Linked DNA regions of Homo sapiens: region 2 is linked to region 1. Evidence: promoter capture Hi-C in human tissues and cell types (Jung and others, 2019). All regions are on one chromosome and are shown on one strand. The core of a region is centred on a gene start or on the middle of the fragment in contact, and the rest is flanking DNA. Distances in the headings are between cores, read along the strand shown. Region 1 overlaps DNAJC7 (DnaJ heat shock protein family (Hsp40) member C7). Region 2 holds the start of FKBP10 (FKBP prolyl isomerase 10).

The links. Contacts are between HindIII fragments. The study calls those that stand out against the background at their distance.
Region 2: a contact is called between the fragment with the promoter of FKBP10 here and a fragment that was not itself captured in region 1, in 2 of the 25 tissues and cell types used here (H1 embryonic stem cells and IMR-90 fibroblasts).

The regions. Positions count from the first base shown.
Region 1 is chr17:41,997,193-42,001,621 of GRCh38, forward strand. It overlaps DNAJC7 (DnaJ heat shock protein family (Hsp40) member C7), which reads right to left. Exons shown (of 14, transcript NM_003315.4): 2 at 3,290-3,378; 3 at 1-47. Among named protein-coding and RNA genes, the nearest start is that of DNAJC7, 18 kb to the right of the region's middle. The HindIII fragment of the contact is 6,309 bases long and covers 1-4,429 here.
Region 2 is chr17:41,811,240-41,815,668 of GRCh38, forward strand. FKBP10 (FKBP prolyl isomerase 10) reads left to right here and starts at 1,765. Exons shown (of 10, transcript NM_021939.4): 1 at 1,765-2,040. The coding sequence starts at 1,796. P3H4 (prolyl 3-hydroxylase family member 4 (inactive)) reads right to left here and starts at 710. Exons shown (of 8, transcript NM_006455.3): 1 at 215-710; 2 at 1-45. The coding sequence starts at 676. RefSeq lists a silencer at 340-829 and enhancers at 970-1,079, 3,566-4,067, 4,068-4,429. The HindIII fragment of the contact is 16,914 bases long and covers 1-4,429 here.

The DNA.
Region 1 (4,429 bases), core at 1,427-3,926:
GGTGGCTGCTCGATTACCATAATAGCTAGCATTTTTAGGACACATATCTATAGGAAAGGCAGAAGAACGTAAAACAAAGTTTAGAACAGGTCCCTGCTTTGAAAACTTAGAGGGGGCTGGGCGCAGTGGCTCATGCCCATAATCCCAGTACTTTGGGAGGCCAAGAGGGGAGACCACTTGAGGTCAGGAGTTCAAGACCAGCCTAGTCAACATGGCACAACCCCATCTCTACTAAAATACAAAAAAAAAAAAAAAATAGCTGGGCGTGGTGGTGGGCCCCTGTAATTCCAGCTACTCAGGAGGCTGAAGCATAAGAATTGCTTGAATCTGGGAAGTGGAGGTTGCAGTGACCCAAGAGCACATCACTGCACTCCAGCCTGGGCGACAGAGGAAGACCCTGTCTCAAAAAACAAACAAACAAATAAACAAAAACTTAGAGGGCATCTCCCTCCAAACAATGTTAAGGGAATCTATCTGTAACGCTCATAAACTCTTTTTTCTTCATGGAGACAGGGTCTCACTCTGTTGCACAGGCTACAGTGCTGTGGTGCTATCTCGGCTCACTGTAACCTCTGCCTCCTGGGTTCAAGTGATTCTTGTGCCTTAGCCTCCCAAGCAGCCAAGCAGCTAGGATTACAGGCATGTGCCACCACGCCTGGCTAATTTCTGTATTTTTATTTATTTATTTGAGGCACAGTCTGGCTCTGTTGCCCACGCTGGACTGCAGTGGTATGATCTCTGCTCACTGCATCCTCCGCCTCCTGGGCTCAAACCATCTTCCTACCTCAGCCTCCTAAGTGGCTGGGACCACAGGCACACGCCACCACATCCAGCTAATTTTTGTATTTTTTGTTGAGATGGGGTTTTGCCGCGTTGGCCAGGCTGGTCTTGAACTCCTGGCCTCAAGTGATCCATCTGCCTCAGCCTCCAAAAGCGTTGGGATTACAGGAGTGAGCTATTGCACCCAGCCCTGACACACTCTCTTTAGAATGCCACAGCCAGCACAGTGGCTCACACCTATAATCTCAGCACTTTGGGAGGCCGAGGTGGGCAGATCACTTGGGGCCAGGAGTTTTGAGACCAGCCTGGCCAACATGGCAAAACGCTGTCTCTGCTAAAATACAAATAAATTAGCCAAGCATGGTGGCACACACCTGCAATCCCAGCTACTCAGGTGGCTAAGGCATGAAAATCGCTTGAAACTAGGAGGTGAAGGTTGCAATAAGCCAAGATTGTGCCACTACACTCCAGCCTGGGTGACAGTGACACTGTCTCAACAATAAATAAATAGGCTGCATCCAAATTTCTGACTGCTTGTGCAAATGGACAGCAGCAAGGATACAATCAGTTTTAAAACAAAACAAGGTACGGCTTTGAAGTGTAGTGATTATCTTTTGAGGAGAGAGGCAGCTTATTAATCTTAATGAACTGTTTTGTATAATGAGACATTAAAATGAAATGTGCATGTTGAGCTGGGGTAAGCAAATTAGGTGAGAAGAATGCTGACACGGGATTAAAGTATGCTGGCAAATTAAGCATGGAGATAACTAAGACTTCTTTTATGTACAAAGGCCATTTTCTAAGGTAGTAAATGAATTGACAATGACTGAAATGTATTTAGGTGGGTTTTGCCATAACATTCAGTATTTCTGGAATTGCCTTTAATTTATCAAAAGAAAAACTACCCACCCCAGTTAGAAGAAGTTATCACAGCTGGGGATGGTGGCACATCCCTGTAATTCTAGCACTTTGGGAGGCCAAGGTAGGAGGATCGCTTGAGCCCAGGAGTTTGAGACCAGCCGGGGCAACATGGTAAGACCCTGTCTCTATTTTAAAAAATTTAAAGAGTTAAAAAAAAAGAAAAGAAAAAGAAAAAAGTTATCATTCATGAGTTTGTTTTTTTTTTTGAGACGGAGATTCGCGCTTGTTGCCCAGGCTGGAGTGCAGCGACGTGATCTTGGCTCACTACAACCTCTGCCTCCCAGGTTCAAGCAATTCTCCTGCCTCAGCCTCCCGAGTAGCTGGGATTACAAGCGCCCACCACACCTGGCTAATTTTTGTATCTTTAGAGACAGGGTTTCACCATGTTAACAGGCCAGGCTGAAATGAAATGTGCATGTTGAGTTGGGGTAAGCAAATTAGGGGAGAAGAACTCCTGACCTCAGGTGATCCGCCCGCCTCGGCCTCCCAAAATGCTGGGATTACAGGCATGAGTCACCACGCCTGGCCTTCATGAGATCATTAAGCCTGAAGGAGTTCATACAGTAACAGTTATCAACCCATTGGGCAAAAGGCTACTTCTCAGAGAGAAGCTACTTTTCTCAATTTTTTTTAATTTAATTTTTGAGATGGAGTTCTTTGGTCGTCCCCCAGGCTGGAGTGCAACGGCAGGATCTCAGCTCACTGCAACCTCCACCTCCTGGGTTCAAGCGATTCTCCTGCCTCAGCCTCCCTAGTAGCTGGGATTACAGGCACGCACCACCACACCCAGCAAATTTTTGTATTTTGTAGAGACAGGGTTTCACCATGTTAGCCAGGCCGGTCTCAAACTCCTGACTTTAGGTGATCTGCCTGCCTTGGCCTTCCAAAGTGCTGGGATTATAGGCGTGAGCCACTGAGCCTGGCCTATTTTTTTTATCTTTTTGAGATGAAGTCTTGCTTTGTTGCCCAGGTTGGAGTGCAGTGGCACAATCTTGGCTCACTGCAACTTCTACCTCCCGAGTTCAGGCAATTCTCCTGCCTCAGCCTCCCAAGTAGCTGGGATTACAGGTGCCCGCCACCAGGCCCAGCTAATTTTTGTATTTTTAGTAGAGACAGGGTTTCGTCATGTTGGCCAGAGTGGTCTGAAACCCCTGATCTAAAGTGATCCGCCTGCTTTGGCCTCCCAAAGTGCTGGGATTACAGGCATGAGCCACTGAGCCTGGCCTATTTTTTTTATCTTTTTGAGATGAAGTCTTGCTTTGTTGCCCAGGTTGGAGTGCAGTGGCACAATCTTGGCTCATTGCAACCTCTACCTCCCGAGTTCAGGCAATTCTCCTGCCTCAGCCTCCCAAGTAGCTGGGATTACAGGTGCCCGCCACCAGGCCCAGCTAATTTTTGTATTTTCAGTAGAGACGGGGTTTCGTCATGTTGGCCAGAGTGGTCTGAAACCCCTGATCTAAAGTGATCCTCCTGCTTTGGCCTCCCAAAGTGCTGGGATTACAGGCGTGAGCCACCAGGACTTGGCAGCTACTTTTAATAATATTTGGCAAGTAAATGTTTTCTAGCGTAAGTATCAGTTCTTTCTCACCTATGGCTTTTGTATAATAATTATAAGCTTCATTGTAATCTTTCTTGGCATAGTATGCATTTCCTTGTTCCTTGAAAGTCTCTGCTTCCCTGAAAATGAAAGAGAAAGAGAATCATGTTACTTTACAAAGGGAATAACCTCTGTAATCTTACAGGAGGAATCTTTGGTCTAGAGCCCGCAGCACACTGAGCTGAAAGTTAGTGTGATACTTGAAGGATTTATAGATTTGTTGAATAGGCCAATGGACCAAAAGGAGGTGCTAATGAAAGAATCCAAGTTCTTCAGATGCTCCTTTTTGTCACTTAGATACATTCAAACTAAATCAAGAAAACCCCTCTTATGTTCCTGCCTCACCTCACTATTTCTGCCTGTAGTCATCCTCCCCGCAGGACAAATTTAGACATTCCCTCATGGCAAGGAATTTTTCTATCTCCTTCCACAGTGTCACAACTGCTGCCTCTTTTGCAAACTTACAGGAAAAATGGTTACTCCATTCAGGGCAACTTATTTCTCAATGTGAAATAGGTCACATCCTCAAGAGTTTTAATAATTTCACCTCCTGAAAAGTGGCTCATGCATTTGTCACTGGAAGAACAAGCAGAGCAAAGGCAGGTGGCAAAAGAGTTAAAAGCATAGCATGTTGGTGTTTAAGACAGGAACAGAGCTGAGTGACAGCAGAGACTAAGACCGTGGATGACAGGGACATATGAGGTACAGGATGCCAGTGCCATACTATAAGGAGCACCCATCCACTGGTGTTCCCTCTTCCCATCACAACAATGTAGGTACTTGCTGCCCTCTTTGTACTCCCTCCAGTACCTTATATATTCAGCAACTGGGTGATAGCAGTATTTTTTCCCTACCTCTAAGATCTATTTTTTGAAACTGTGCCATTAGACAAAGTATACTTTCCTAAACTTTGTCCTAAAGGAACAATGTTATATAATTGGGAATTAGATTCCCGAGCAAGTACCTAGAATCAAATCAGACATGACCAACAGTGTTTTAAAAGAACTAGTAACCTCTATCAAGATACTCAAAATCATTCCACTGCTCAAGTGATAAAGATAATTCTTTACTGAAATGATTACTGCAACATTAACTAAGTACCTGATCATTTTTGTTATGAGAAACATCTTT
Region 2 (4,429 bases), core at 515-3,014, 190 kb before region 1:
GAGGAAGGTGTAGGCCGCCGCCACCGCCTTCTCCAGCCGGTTAGCCTGGTCGGGGGGTAGGGGGTGGGGGAGCGGGTCAGCAAGACCGGAGCTCGCGGCCCCGAGCGCACGGCGGGCTTCGTGCCTTGGGTGAAGATAACGCTCCTTCGACCGATCTGTGGGGAGCCACGACGCCCAGCCCGAGACAGGTCCCCGGGTGGGGGCGGGCTCCCACCTTGAACAGCGCGTAGTGCAGGTACTGGTAGGGCAGGCGGCTCTGGAAGTCACGCAGCAGCTGCCGCGGCGGGTAGGGCACCTGGAAGGCGGGCAGCGTCCGCTTGCAGCGCCGCAGGCAGGCGGCTCGCTCCAGGACGCGGCCGAAGAGCCGCAGCTCGCAGGCCCACTCGTCTGCGCGGCCGCCGTCGGGATCGGGCTTGGCCGCGGGCGCGGGGCCGCTGCAGTTGGCGTGGCAGAAGGCCTCGCTGTCGCGCAGGAGCCGGTGCAGCCGCAGCGCCGCCTCCAGGTAGCGCGCGCTCTCGCGCCAGCTCTCTCCCTCGTACTGCTCCAGAGCGTGCCCGTACGCCGCGGCCAGCGGCATCAGGTCCTCGGGCGGGAAGCCCCGGAAGCTGTACTTCTCGTACTGCGCCCCGGCGCTGCCCAGCAGCAACCACAGCAGCCCCCACGCCACCCGAGCCATGCCCGCCGCGCCGCCGGCTCTCCGGAGCTGAGCTGGCTGCCCCGCGGACGGAAGGGGACAGGGCCGGGCCCCGGGCGGGCGGCGCGCCCGCTGGGTCTTAGCGCCGGGCACGAGGCGGCAAGGTGGGGCGGGGCCTGGGTCACGACGTCTCCCCTCTTTTCCCAGAGGGTCCGATAGTGTCGTTAAGTCCTCTCCGTCGGCCCGGGCTCCTGCCTTGGGGGTGTCCCCTAGGTAGAGAATGCGTCGGGGAGCGCTTCCCGCCAGAGATGGGAAGCCCAGGAAGCCCCTCCCCATGCAAACAGTGCCCCCGCCTGAGATCAGGACACTGAGTGAGGGCCGCCTCCTCTGCGCTGCCCATACGAGAAGGAAGCCCTGGAGCCGGGCCTTCCGTCGCTGCGCCCTCCTGCACCCTCCGAGTGTCTCCCCCGCCCACGTCGGAGGCACACACCTGCTGTCACCTGCACACCTTGCGCTGCCACCACCCCCCACTCCATCTCCGTGCCCGTCACATCCCAAGTCACAAAGTCCTTCTTTCAGTCCAGCTTTTGCGGGACCAAGCTGCTCTTCCCTGGAGATGCCTTCCCTTGGAGTACAGCTGGGGTCACGGATGAGCACGGAGATGCCTCTCACACTCCGCGGCTTCACCACCCACCTGGAGGGGACTAGAATTCGAAGTGCCCGCGAAAGAAGCAAGGTTCATCTCCGCCCGGCTTTAGGACCCGGGGGCTCCGGAAAAAGTCATTGAACTTTTTTTTTTTTTTTTCCTTTGGTGTCCACTCAGAGTTCTCATCTTTCCCGAGCCTCTCTCCCTGGCCAGGCCCCAGGTCTCGCAGCCAGGGATGGAGATGGGGGGAGGGGGAACCTAGAGTTCTTTGTAGTGCCTCCCTCAGACTCTAACACACTCAGCCTGGCCCCCTCCTCCTATTGCAACCCCCTCCCCCGCTCCTCCCGGCCAGGCCAGCTCAGTCTTCCCAGCCCCCATTCCACGTGGACCAGCCAGGGCGGGGGTAGGGAAAGAGGACAGGAAGAGGGGGAGCCAGTTCTGGGAGGCGGGGGGAAGGAGGTTGGTGGCGACTCCCTCGCTCGCCCTCACTGCCGGCGGTCCCAACTCCAGGCACCATGTTCCCCGCGGGCCCCCCCAGCCACAGCCTCCTCCGGCTCCCCCTGCTGCAGTTGCTGCTACTGGTGGTGCAGGCCGTGGGGAGGGGGCTGGGCCGCGCCAGCCCGGCCGGGGGCCCCCTGGAAGATGTGGTCATCGAGAGGTACCACATCCCCAGGGCCTGTCCCCGGGAAGTGCAGATGGGGGATTTTGTGCGCTACCACTACAACGGCACTTTTGAAGATGGCAAGAAGTTTGATTCAAGGTAACCCCGGTTGGGCGCCCCCGGATTCACCACTCCGTCCCCTGAACCCGGGGTCCTGTTTCCTTGTTGCCTCTTTTAAGCTCTGCATCCCAATACTCTAACCCTAGACAGCACCCCTGGGGCCTCCCAGACACCCATCTCCCCAAAGATACCCTCCTGCCCCCACTTCCAAACCCTCACTTCTCAAAGGATCCCATTTCTTTCTCACAAGCTCTCCACATCCCGGAAAGGACTCGATAATCAAGGTGAACTGCCTTGTGTAGTTACCAGGGCTGTATGTAATGACCTGATGGAGAGGGGTGTTCTGATCTACAGTGTTGGGGGGAAGGGGGTGGTCCCTGCTGCTTAAGAACCCTGGGATGGTCTATCAGCCTGGACCCCGTACCTTTCCACCCACCCTGACTCCCCTTCTGGTTCCACTGTTTTCAGTGCCTTTGTGGTCAGAGAAGAGGGAATAGAACTTTTTTTTGGAGGGGGTGGGAGTTTTCAGCGGCTGGTGGGCAGGGAAAAAGGCTGGTGGGTATTATAAGAAGACAGCCGGCTGGACCTGGGGGTAGCGCGTGGCTCCCTGCGGAGGCCCTGTCTACGTGTCACACAGTCGGACATGCCACCCTGGGCTCCTTGGAGGAATTTCATTCCTCCCTCTCTGGTTCTCCTGGAACCCTCATCTCTCTCCATTTTAGGTACACCAGGCCAGAGGCACAGGCCGCCCATTTTTGCCAGCCTTGGGGTTTGTAAGGTGGCCTCCTGGTCTGACCCAGGCCTTTGGTCTGCCCCAGCAAGTCCACTTTTGTTAGCGGGGACAGGGCAGGGCTGTATGCCAGCCTCAGGGGTAAATCTAGGGTCCCAGTTACACACAGACCCCACAGCACACTGAAAGAAGTCAGTGTTTCTTAGACCCTCCTCTGAAACACACAACTCAGCCCACAGGAAATTAGTGGCCATGACTTTAGAGGCAGGCATATATTGGGGTAAGCCTACAAACTCCAAGAGTCCCAAGACCCTGGTTCAAATCCAGGCTATGACCATGGACAGAGAATTTTGTCTCTTTAGGCATCACTTTCCTTATCTGAAAAGTGGAGACAAAAACAGGACCTACTTGCTAAGGCTGATGTTAGGACTCCAAGGACATGGATGAATGAACGTAGGCTTCTCACAGGGCCTGGCAGTCCTCCAGCCAGTTCAGCACACATTAACATTGACCCTGAGGAAAACCATATGACCTGATGCTGTGGAACTTGTAGAAACTTAATGCAGAGCTTAAGCCTTCATAACAACACTGAGAAGGAAACAGTCCAGACTTAAAACCTGTCTGCTTGGTGGGCAAATTCAGATATAGGGTAGTAGCCAGAAGTGCAGCCCTGAGCCCTTGACTGCTAGGAGTGAGGCAGGGGTTGGGATTTAGGGGATGTCATCCCTGATGGGGACTCTGGGAGCCCAGCTCATGAGTGTTGAGCTTGGAAAACTTTTTGTTTTTTAGCTGGAGGCTCACTCTGTCGCCCAGGCTGGAGTGCAGTGGTGCCATCTCAGCTCACTGCAACCTCCTGGGTTCAAGCAATTCTCCTGCTTCAGCCTCCCAAGTAGCTGTGATTACAGGCGCATGCCACCACGCCCAGCTAATTTTTGTTTGTTTGTTTGTTTTTGTTTTTTGAGACACAGTCTCACACTGTTGCCTGGGCTGGAGTGCAATGGAGCAATCTCAACTCACTGCAACCTCCGCCTCTGCCTCCCAGGTTCACGTGATTCTCCTGCCTCAGCCTCCCGAGTAGCTGGGATTACAGGTGCACACCACCACACCCGGCTAATTTTTTTGTATTTTTAGTAGAGAGGGGTTTCACTATGTTGGCCAGACTGGTCTTGAAAAAGGCGGGTGGGTATTATAAGAAGACAGCCAGCTGGACCTGGGGGTAGGGCATGGCTCCCTGCGGAGGCCCTGTCTGTCTACGTGTCACACAGTCAGACATGCCACCCCAGCCTCGTGATCCGCCCACCTCGGCCTCCCAAAGTGCTGGGATTACAGGCGTAAGCCACGGCGCCCAGCCTTAATTTTTCATATTTTAGTAGAGATGGCGTTTCACCATGTTGCTCAGGCTGGTCACAAACTTCTGAGCTCAGGCAATCCACCCTCCTCAGCCTCCCAAAGTGCTAGAATTACAGGCGTGAGCCCCCGCGCCCACACAACTTAGAAAACTTTTTTTTTTTTTGAGACAGAGTCTTGCTCTGTCCCCCAGGCTGGAGTGCAGTAGCGCGATCTCTGCTCACTGCAAGCTCCGCCTCCTGGGTTCACACCATTCTCCTGCCTCAGCCTCCCGATTAGCTGGGACTACAGGCGCCTCCACAATTTTTTTTGTATTTTTAGTAGAGACGGGGTTTCACCATGTTAGCCAGG